2 separate regions of the Homo sapiens genome follow, and region 1 is linked to region 2. Evidence: promoter capture Hi-C in 16 types of primary human blood cells and fetal thymus (Javierre and others, 2016). All regions are on one chromosome and are shown on one strand. Each heading gives the region's core, a stretch centred on a gene start or on the middle of the fragment in contact. The rest is flanking DNA. Distances are from core to core; before and after follow the strand shown.

Evidence for each region. The method cuts DNA at HindIII sites, captures the fragments that hold promoters and counts their contacts. A CHiCAGO score of 5 or more calls a contact.
Region 1: a fragment that was not itself captured here is called in contact with the fragment with the promoter of TACR1 in region 2 in 1 of 17 cell types (megakaryocytes); the score reaches 5.9 in megakaryocytes.

What each region holds. Positions count from the first base shown.
Region 1 is chr2:75,238,850-75,244,131 of GRCh38, reverse strand. All of the region lies in intron 2 of TACR1-AS1 (TACR1 antisense RNA 1), which reads right to left. All of the region lies in intron 1 of LOC107985900 (a long non-coding RNA gene), which reads left to right. Among named protein-coding and RNA genes, the nearest start is that of TACR1, 42 kb to the right of the region's middle. The HindIII fragment of the contact is 2,613 bases long and covers 1,861-4,473 here.
Region 2 is chr2:75,196,837-75,202,240 of GRCh38, reverse strand. TACR1 (tachykinin receptor 1) reads left to right here and starts at 2,721. Exons shown (of 5, transcript NM_001058.4): 1 at 2,721-3,695. The coding sequence starts at 3,307. The region is part of intron 2 of TACR1-AS1 (TACR1 antisense RNA 1); the gene reads right to left. The HindIII fragment of the contact is 965 bases long and covers 2,117-3,081 here.

The DNA of each region.
Region 1 (5,282 bases), core at 1,918-4,417, 41 kb before region 2:
GAATGAATATGAATGAATAAATGAATATGAATGAATAATATTGTACCGTTGTAATGTCGTTACATTTTTGAAAGGGAAAGCAGAAAGTAAGAAGTATCCATGAAGTGTGAAGTCAGGTCTTACAATATTAACTCTAAGTAAACTTTGATAAATTAGGATACATGTTGTTAGTCCTAAAGCAACCCCTAAAAATAATAAAAGGAGTCATAGCAAGAAGCAAATAGAAGAAATTAAGTGGTATATTAAATTTTTTCAATTAACCCGAAAGAAGACAGAAAAGGGCAACCGAGGATCAAAGAAGATATGCAAGTAAAATAAGAATATCAGGAAGACACGAGTAAAAACCTCATTAAAAAATAATAGAGTACGAAAGGAAATTGAAATGAAAAACAAAAAAGAATTTCTGAAGGTAGAAAACATAACTTCAAATTACATAATTTTGTGGATGAATTAAAAGGGAATCTGCTCTGTTGAGACCTATCTAACATTGAGATGGGTCTCTTGAAGATAGCAAACTTGCCACTTAAAGATAGCAGTTTGCCACTCTGTCTTTTAAGTGGGCCGTTGAGACTATTTATATGCAGGGTTAGTATTGATATGTGAGATTTTGATCCTGCCATCTGTTGTTAGCTGGTTATTTTGCAGACGTGACCGTTTAGTTGCTTTATAGTGTCTGTGGGCTATGTATTTAACTGTGTTCTTGTGATAGCAGCTGTCTTTCTTTCGTTTTCATATTAGGTCTCCTTTAAGTACTTTTTTTTTTTTAAGACAGATTCTCCTCTGTCGCCCAGGCTGGAGTGCAGTGGCGTGATCAATCTTGGCTCACTGCAACCTCCGCCTCCTGGGTTCAAACGATTCTCCTGCCTCAGCCTCCTGAGTAACTGGGACTACAGGCGTGTGCCACCATGAGGCTAATTTTTTGTATTTTCTTTTTTTAGTAGAGATGGAGTTTCACTGTGTTAGCCAGGATGGTCTCAATCTCCTGAGCTCATGATCTGCCCGCCTCGGCCTCTCAAAGTGCTGGGATGACAGGCATGAGCCACCACACCTGGCCATAAGTAAAGCTGGTCTAGTTGTAATGAGTTCCCTCAGTGCTTGCTTGTCTGAAAAGGATTTTATTTTTTGTTTGCTTATGAAGCTTAATATGGCAGGGTAGTGAATTCTTGGTTGGAATTTCTTTTTCTTTAAGGATGCTGAAAATAGGCTTTCAACCTCTCCTGACTTATAAGGTTTTTGCTGATATGTCTGCTGCTGGCCTGATACATGAACTGACTCTTCTCTCTAGCTGCCTTTTAGATTATTTCATGTTGACCTCAGTGAATCTGACAAATATGTGCCTTGGGGATGGTGTTTTGAATGATACCTAGCAGGAGTTCTCTGTATTTCTTGAATTTTCATGTCAACCTCTCTAGCTTATTTAGGAAAATTTTCATGGACTATGTCTTTAAATATATTTTCCAAGTTGCTTACTCTCTCTCCTCTCAGGAATTCCAGTGAGTGGTAAGTTTGATGTCTTTACATAATCCCATATTTCTCAGAAGTTGTATGAATTTTTAAATCCTTTTTTTTCCCTTATTTTTATCTGACTGACTTGATATGAAGAACTTTTCTTCAAGCTCTGAGATTCCTCAGCTTGGTCTCATGCTGTTTCTCAGCTGCATGACACTGGTGTTGTGTCTGCATTTCCTTTGTTAGGTATTATGCTGTTAATACTTCCAATTGTATTATGAAATTCTTGTAATGCATTTTTTGGTTCCAGAAGTTCAGTTTGGTTCTTTCTTAAAATTACTATTTTATCTTTCAGCTCTTTGACTATTTTACTGGATTCCTTGGATTAGGTTTCAACTTTCTCCCTAAGCTTGATGAGATTCCTTGACATCCAGATTCTGAATTCTACATCTGTCATTTCAGTCATTTTAGTCTGTTTAAGAATCATTGCTTGGGAGCCAGTGGGTTTGTTTGGAGATAAGTGGACATTCTAGCTTTTTGAATTGTCAGAATTCTTGTGTTGATTCTTTCTCATCTGAAAGGACTTATGTTCCTTTAACTGTTGTGTAAGTTGAATATAGTCAATTGGCTTCATTTCTGGGTGCTTTCAGAGGGCCAAGACTCTGTATACTATCTTTATTTGCGGCTGGATTCTTGTCCTTGGTTTCAAAGTGACAGAATATTTTTGCAGTTGTAGTTTAGGCTGTGATTCAGTAGATGGCACTAAAGAATTATAGCCAGAAGATAAGTGCTTATCTGCAGGGCTTTATTGTATTTCCTCATATTTGCAGCTGTCCTCTGTGGTGGAGGAGGGAGAGCTGACTCCCTCACCGGGTCCATTTCTAGGCCTTGGGGGAGACCTCTCTGATCACTGGTGTTCTGTCTTTATTTCCTTTATTAGGTGTTCTGGGCCACGAGACTCCCTCAGGCAGAGGCTATGGCAGGGCGATAGGCCACATTCTTTCCAAACTGGCCCTGTGGAGGGAGGAACACCCTGCTCCCACACCAACCCATGAACCGATATGTCTTATCACCCCTTTCAGTGCTCTGAGTATGAGGACTCCTCCCCAGCTCCAGTACCAGCCACAGATCTCAGCTCAACACTCTCGAGCTCTGTACCACAACCCCAGGATACAGGGACCAGCCAGCAGCTTCATCCCCTGGACCCTTGGGTTGGGTTCCAGCTGTGCTGGGGGATCTGATGTGCTCCCAGGCCACTGGGAAACTACTTAGATGGAGCAAAGGATCCAGGCTAAGCAGCAGAGGCTGTGCTGTGTGCATACTCCTGCAGAATGGCCAGGCAGGGGTCCTGGGAAGGGCTGGCAGGCAGGTGGGTCTGCAGAAAAGATGCAACCCAGTCCCATTGGGAAGCACCAGCCCTGTTCTCTCCTGATCTGGTGGTCAGCTGGGGCTAGAGTTACTTGGAAGAAGATAGAGAGCCCTATGGGCGCCTATGGCTGTACTCCACTGCAGCTGCCCCAGGCACAAAAGCCCCTAGGCTCTGCTCCAGTTGAAGCCCTGTCTCTGCCTACTCTCAGGGAAGATTCCCCTGCCAATTCAAACATCCATGGGGCATGTGGGGTCCCCTATAGCTAAGATCACAGAGGGCCATGGTGAAAGTAAGCTGTCCCTCTGTTTCTCTACTCACTCCTTCCACATGATCCATTCAGGGCCATGAACTAGCCCTAGCATTCATGTATCCTGCACAGGGTTCCTAGCTTTTTCCCTCTTCACCCTCAGTGTCTGTATCACCTTTCCAATAGCTGTTGGTGTTTTCTCTCTGAAGGTCTGCTCAAAGTATGTGCAATACTTTGGTCTCTCTCAGTGGAAGCAGTGCTTCCTGGATGCATCTAGTGAGCCATTTTGTCCCCTCTGAAGACAACTGCCAATCTCTGCAGCATGAGCTGCTTCGTGCCCAGGAGCTCCAAGGTGCCACCAACCACAAGGGCTACAGCCATGCAGAGCATGAGCATGCAGGCCTAGGTGTCCAGGGTGGGAATGGGGCTCTGGCTTTTTCGAACAGTGGGCACAGGCATGCTGTTCCCACCATCAGCTCAGGCACTGGCAGGAGGAGGGTACCACTCAGGAGGCTGTGAGAGAAGGATCAACAATTTTTTTTTTTTTTGAGACGGAGTCTCGCTCTGTTGCCCAGGCTGGAGTACAGTGGCACTATCTCAGCTCACTGCTACCTCTGCCTCCTGAGTTCCAGCAATTCTCCCGTCTCAGCCCCCTGAGTGGCTGGGACTATAGGCGCCCGCCACCATGCCTCTCTCATTTTTGTATTTTTAGTAGAGATGGGGTTTTACCATATTAGTCAGGCTGGTCTCGAACTCCTGACCTTAGGTGATCTGCTGGCCTCAGACTCCCAAAGTGCTGGGATTACAGGCGTCAGCCACCACGCCCAGCGACAATTATATTCTTGAAGGGAGGAGGCAGTATTATAAACACAATAATTTTTCCAAATGAGTATTGTATTTAACGTAATTTTAATCAAACCTCCATGGGAGCTGGAATTTGACAAAATTAGTTTGAAATTTACCTAAAGAGAGAGAATAGTAAAGAATTTTTAATAGTAAGAATAATAAGGGTGGAGAGCATGCTCTGACACATGATAAAACAGATTTTAAAAGCTATGATACTCAAGACAGTATACTTTTGGCAACACTAAAATAAAATACAGATGTCTGAATTAAACAGAAAAGAAACTGTGAAAATGACCATGCAAGCCAATACCATGCATAACAATTTTAATAATCAATAGGAAAATTATAATCTTTCATAAATTTTTAAAAAATTATCCTGTGGTTAGTTACAAATGCATAGAAAAATGCGGAAAATGGCAAAACTAATGTTTATTTAGCACGCTGAAATTTTAGAAACATTGATAATTAAAGCGCTACATTTATCTGCAAAAAAACTCACCAAGAGTCATTTTAACATTGCTTACCTTCTTCTCATGGTATATCTTATGATAGGAAGCAAGCTTCACTTCTATATCTTGGCAACTTGTCATATTCCTTCTTAAGTTTGGATCCGTTTACATTATTTTACCCTTTGCACTTTCAATGCTGTAAAATGTCTCTGAGAATTCTTTTAATGCTGAGTTTATTCCTGGCAGCGCTTCCTCAAGGACATCTTCATTCTTTTCGTCAGAACCACTTTCCTTATTTACACCATTAAGTAGACTTTTACTAAGTTCCTTCTGGCTACTTATCTAGAATTTCTCCAATGACAGCAGTGTCAACATTTTTATGGTCATTTATTTCTTTTATAACTCCATTTATGTTCAATTCTACCTCTACTTCTAGTTTATCACTTTCTTTGTTGCGCTTTCAGTTTTGCTGGCGAATTTCTTCTTTTTATTATTCATCTTTTGTAAAACATCACGTATTTATCATTGTGAGACAAGGAGGGACTAAAACTTCACACTTTTCTGTGTGTACATAGACTGAATAACAGTTGCACAGTGACTAGTCATAGACAGAATTTAAAAGAATGTTGCTGATCATGGATGATGATGCACATTTTTTTTTAATGTAGTCATTTGTGGGCTGAAACTTGTACCTTATACAAGCACTCACGATATACCATGATAACTGAAATTTAATTATGTTGTTAGGAGACTGGTGTCATTTAATCAAACCATGGTAACTAAAATCCATGCATATCAGAACCATGTCAAGTGAGGAGTTTGTGTATGTGTGTGTGTGTGTGTGTGTGTGTGTGTGCGCGCAAGAGACTGCTATAATTCAGGGTCAAAAGAAAGGGAGGAATATTGTGTAAGAGATGCTGAG
Region 2 (5,404 bases), core at 1,472-3,971:
CCCATCATGAATATGCTTTTTCTTTTTAAGAAGAGAAACTAGCTTTAGCAAGTCATAAGGATTCCTAAGATATGGCTACCAGCCATGAAAATCCCGGAGTAGAAAGAAAAACAACCCCAAGTCAGACTCATCAACACATCAGAGTTGAAGGCCAGGGTAAGGAACGTAGGTGTCCCAGTGCCTGGCACCAGTTCCACCATTTGAGGTGGCTTTGGACTGGCATACAAAGCCTCAAAGTTAGCCGAGGGCTAGGCAGGATGGAGGCAGGGAGAGAAGGCGGGCTGACCTGCGCTCCAGTCCCTATGCAAACCTGGAAGGTGAGCAGGGAGAAGAACCCCTGATGCCACCCAGGGCCCCGCTCTGACCTGCAGGCTCATAGGTGGGCAGTCATTATGGGACTTTAAGCAGAGTGACAAGGTTTGATTTATAAAACTTCAGCCTGAAATATTCGCCTTTTTTCCACCCTCAACCTCTTCCCATCCTAACTCATTCTTCAGGCTTCTTCATGGATGAGATTTTCTTCCATCTGTACGGATACCCCTCATTGTTTAGGTTAGGTGGCCTCCCTCTTCTCTCCTCACTCAGGGCTTAGTACCTTTGGTCATCATAATACCGCCCATTTTGTATGGTTCATTGCTTCTTGTTTGTCTTCCTCCATACTGTAAGTGCTTGTTCACCCCCCAGCCCCAGTGCCCAGCACAGTACCTGCTTCAAAATATCAACTTGCTGTACTAATGGAGGATAAATGGATTAATGTTTACTTTTTAGCTATTTCATATTTATTTTATATTTAGCTCTTATTACATATTTAGATTTTATTCGATTAGCTTTCTTTTTCTCCCTTAACCACTGAATAAAGTTCCTTTTGAAAACGTCAGCCTGGCTCTAATGGACAGGGAGAAAAAAGAAAAGATAACTTTAAACAGCTTGGAAGGAAAATTAAAGATAGAGAAGTTTCCCCTCCCCCCTCCCCCACCCTCCGCATCCCCTTCCCTCTCCCTTTTCCTCCCTCTCTCTGTCAGCTCTTTGAGATGGTGGAAGCCTCAAGCAGAGATCCAAGGTGGAGGAGGCATTCCCTTCCACAAAGAAGACCTCTTGTGCAGCCGCTCTAAATAAAGGGACGCTGTTCTCTTGAAAGCATCTCTAGAGTTTTCTATGCAGTGTGTTTACGGGTGCCTAGGAGAACCTGGCAAAGCAATGTGCGGTTCCTATATACGCTAAAATCCCAGGCTCCGAAAAAATACAGAGTGAAACAGCAGATTCTCCTCCCCGGCGTGGGATCCAATTTTTGCCCGGCATAAGTGTATAGTAAATTTCCCAGCCTTAAAGCACTTCCCGAGAGATGCTTTGAGCGCTCGCGGTACCAGTGCGTAAACGCCGCTCCCCGGCTGGCGCGGGTGTGCGCCAACTCCAACCTGCGCGCAAGTCTGCCGGTGCGCGCTCCAGTCCCACAGCTCCGAGTCCCCGCAGTGAAAGGAGGGGGCGGTGCACCGGGGTAGATGGGCCCCTGAGGACTCCCGGGGTTCAGTTTTCCGCGGAACTCTGCCTGCAGCAGTCTGGCGGGAACGTGCTGCGGAGCTCATCCCATCTTGGCTTCTCCAAAAGGGTTTATACGGACTGGCGAGTCTTTGCCCTGCCTCCTCCAAGTGTCTGGCACCAGTTCTACCGTTTGAAATGGTCTTGGACTGGGATACGAGGCCTCAAAGTCAGAAGACGGCAGGGCAGGATGGAGGCGGGCAGAGAAGGCTGGCTGACCTGTCCTCCAGCCCCTATGCAAACCTGGAAGGGGAACAGGGAGAAGGACCACCGATGCCACCCCGAGCCCGGCTCTGGCCTGCAGGCTTGGCAGGCGCGGAGGCGGAGGCTGCCAGGTCCCCGGGAGGCAAACGCAGCGCCGCAGTGATTGCTGGCGGAGAGCCCAGAGCCGCGCGTCTGAGCGACAAGCTGCCTATGAGTGTGGCTCCTGCGCTCACCAAGATTCGCAGGGAGCTCAGCCCTGTCCCCAGTGATTGAGCAGAGGCTCATCCAGAGGGGTCAGGTGGAGGGCTCAAATGGAGCTTCTCCTGGAACGAGGGGCCAAGTCACCAGGGTGGCTGAGGAAAGTGTCCTCAAAGCTTAGAGACTGTCACTTCCCAGGTGAATCAGCTAGCCAGGTAACTGAGCTAGATATTTTGTGGGGGTGTTTCCTAAACACAGCCTCAGGAAAGTTGTTTTCGGGACACCTGGACCAGGGAGTCGTCGCCTCTGGCTTCTCGGTAGCTGGAGCGCGGCCCGGAGCGCGGCGCTGGCACATCGCCCCCACACATGACCGTTTCCCATTGCCACAGGCAAGCCGCCTCTGCAGAGCTGTCTCAGGGCTCTGGGCTTCATTCCCTGGAAGTTGATTGTCCTCCACTCCAGCTGTTTCCCAAATCCTTCCTTCCTCCCAGCACCCCTCGTGCAACGACGATTCCAGCTGCGGACCGCATCTGTGTCAGTTACTTCCAAGCCACCTACTGCCCCCTCGCGGAGTGCGTGGGGCTCCCGGCTCGCAGACTCCCACGGCAAGTAGCAAGCAGCAAAAGGCGTGGTAGCTGCGGCGGTGGAATGAGACAGTTGTCAACAGCTGGCGCAGCTGCCGCGCTGCGCACCGGGACTGGCGAGTACGCAGCCCAGGTACTGCCCCTTCCCAGTGACGTCTCTGCAGGGGGTTATAAAAGCCTCGTGCGCAGCTAACTCGCGAGCTGAGCAACCCGAACCGAGAGGTGCCCGCGAAACTGCAGGCGGCGGCAGCGGCAGCAAAAGAGAAGGAAAAATCTCCAGCTGGATACGAAGCTCCAGAATCCTGGCCATAGGCTCAGAACTTTTACAGGTCGCGCTGCAATGGGCCCCCACTTCGCTCCTAAGTCCTCACGCAGCACAGGGCTTTGCCTTTCCCTGCGGAGGAAGGAGAAATAGGAGTTGCAGGCAGCAGCAGGTGCATAAATGCGGGGGATCTCTTGCTTCCTAGAACTGTGACCGGTGGAATTTCTTTCCCTTTTTCAGTTTACCGCAAGAGAGATGCTGTCTCCAGACTTCTGAACTCAAACGTCTCCTGAAGCTTGAAAGTGGAGGAATTCAGAGCCACCGCGGGCAGGCGGGCAGTGCATCCAGAAGCGTTTATATTCTGAGCGCCAGTTCAGCTTTCAAAAAGAGTGCTGCCCAGAAAAAGCCTTCCACCCTCCTGTCTGGCTTTAGAAGGACCCTGAGCCCCAGGCGCCAGCCACAGGACTCTGCTGCAGAGGGGGGTTGTGTACAGATAGTAGGGCTTTACCGCCTAGCTTCGAAATGGATAACGTCCTCCCGGTGGACTCAGACCTCTCCCCAAACATCTCCACTAACACCTCGGAACCCAATCAGTTCGTGCAACCAGCCTGGCAAATTGTCCTTTGGGCAGCTGCCTACACGGTCATTGTGGTGACCTCTGTGGTGGGCAACGTGGTAGTGATGTGGATCATCTTAGCCCACAAAAGAATGAGGACAGTGACGAACTATTTTCTGGTGAACCTGGCCTTCGCGGAGGCCTCCATGGCTGCATTCAATACAGTGGTGAACTTCACCTATGCTGTCCACAACGAATGGTACTACGGCCTGTTCTACTGCAAGTTCCACAACTTCTTTCCCATCGCCGCTGTCTTCGCCAGTATCTACTCCATGACGGCTGTGGCCTTTGATAGGTGAGATTAGCCTTTGTGAAAAGGCGAGAAAGTGCTCATAGAGGACCACGGCATTGCTGTGAGGTTTGGAACTGGGTGGGGTATGGGTCAAGTGGAAGATTGGCCACTCTGAGGGTTTTTTTACTGATCAACTGAGTCATTTGTTGATGGGGAACTTCATCTTATGTATTTCAACTTTTTTTCCTCTTTTTTACCCATCACTCTCTCTCTTCCTTTCAACACACATCCCCCTTTTCTTCATTTAACTCCCCTTTCTTCATCTCTTCTCCACTCATCTTCCTGACACTTTCAACTTCTGCTTTGCTCCTTTCCATATATTCCTTCTCCCCTTTACCCTTGCAGGCTGCAAACAATACCTAGGGTTTGGTCAAAGGACTAGACCCTGGAAGGGGCTTTGTAAATTCCTCCAGGCCTGTTTTTCTGTCAGACAGCCTCTTGTTGCCTTCCTGTTTTAAGTACACCTAGAGGATTCTGGGACTTTCTGCTCCCACTGCAACTCTCCAGTTTGTTGTTGTAGTTGTTGTTGTTGTTTGGTTGGTTGGTTCGTTGGTTTGTGTTTGTTTGTTTGTTTGTTTTGGATGTGAAAGAGCATTTCATCAGTATCATAAGATACTCAGAATTCTAATGCAGTTTACTCTGTAATGCTAGGAATTCTCATTCAGGAATGAGAGACAGTTATGCTATCCTTAAGAAACTCCACGGATAGGGATCCAGGAAGCTTACCCAAGAGGTGTTCTAAATTTCTCCTGCAATGTAAAATGTATGTATTTAGCCTGTCTCTATCCACAGAGAAACATGCTTGGCAAAGGCATTTGAGAGCTCTTCTGTTCCGGCAACCAACAGGTTAGGGTTCCCAAAGCTGACTGAAAGTGAAAAGGTTGGCATTTCAAACACTGGGGATGGTATTCTGGAATGAATGGCTCTTCAGGTAGCATGATGGAAAATTGATTATTGGAGCACAGCTCTGTTGGTATTGTCTCCTTTGTGAGTATCTTAGGTCTCCAATGTGTATGTCTATGTGTGCACAGGTGTTAAATGTTTACCTGGGATGTGAAAGTATGCTTAAAACACCTACCACTGTGATTTTAAAATGGAGTCTTTTGATGTCCTTCCTGAGATAACTGAATGTGAGAAACCCAAAGAAGGAGCTAGGAGAAAACTTCAAAAAAAATTCCAAACTACTAACCCTCTTTGCATAAAGATTGTTTATAACTTGCAAATTATTAGAAGTCTTTTTTAGCTCCTGTAGTCAATGAACACTTTTAAAATCAGGGAAATCTTCATTTCCATCCTTTGCAGTGGTGTCCAAATACTGATTTGTTAGTTCCCTGTACATCTCTCTATATGCAGCTCCTATGTGCTTACTATGTTTTATGTAAAACAAATTGTGGAAAATCAGTTTGTATTTTAAATGTAGATGGTAAACCAATTACTCAAAGTGGGAGTGAAATGAATTATTTTGCAAATTTATCTTTTGTACTACACTGGTTTTCAGATATTCAGTTTGCTGAAAGTGAGGTACACCTGTAAATCTTTCTGCATTGACATGCTCCTTTAATCTCATAACAGCTTCCTTAAACTTAAAAAAGTCGATAGCATGATATATAAGTGAATATCAGGGTAGTGAAACCTGATGCCAGTTCAGCCTTACAAACACTCTCTTGATGCCCCCTAAATTAGAGGGCAAGTTTTTTGGGGGGTTTTGTTTG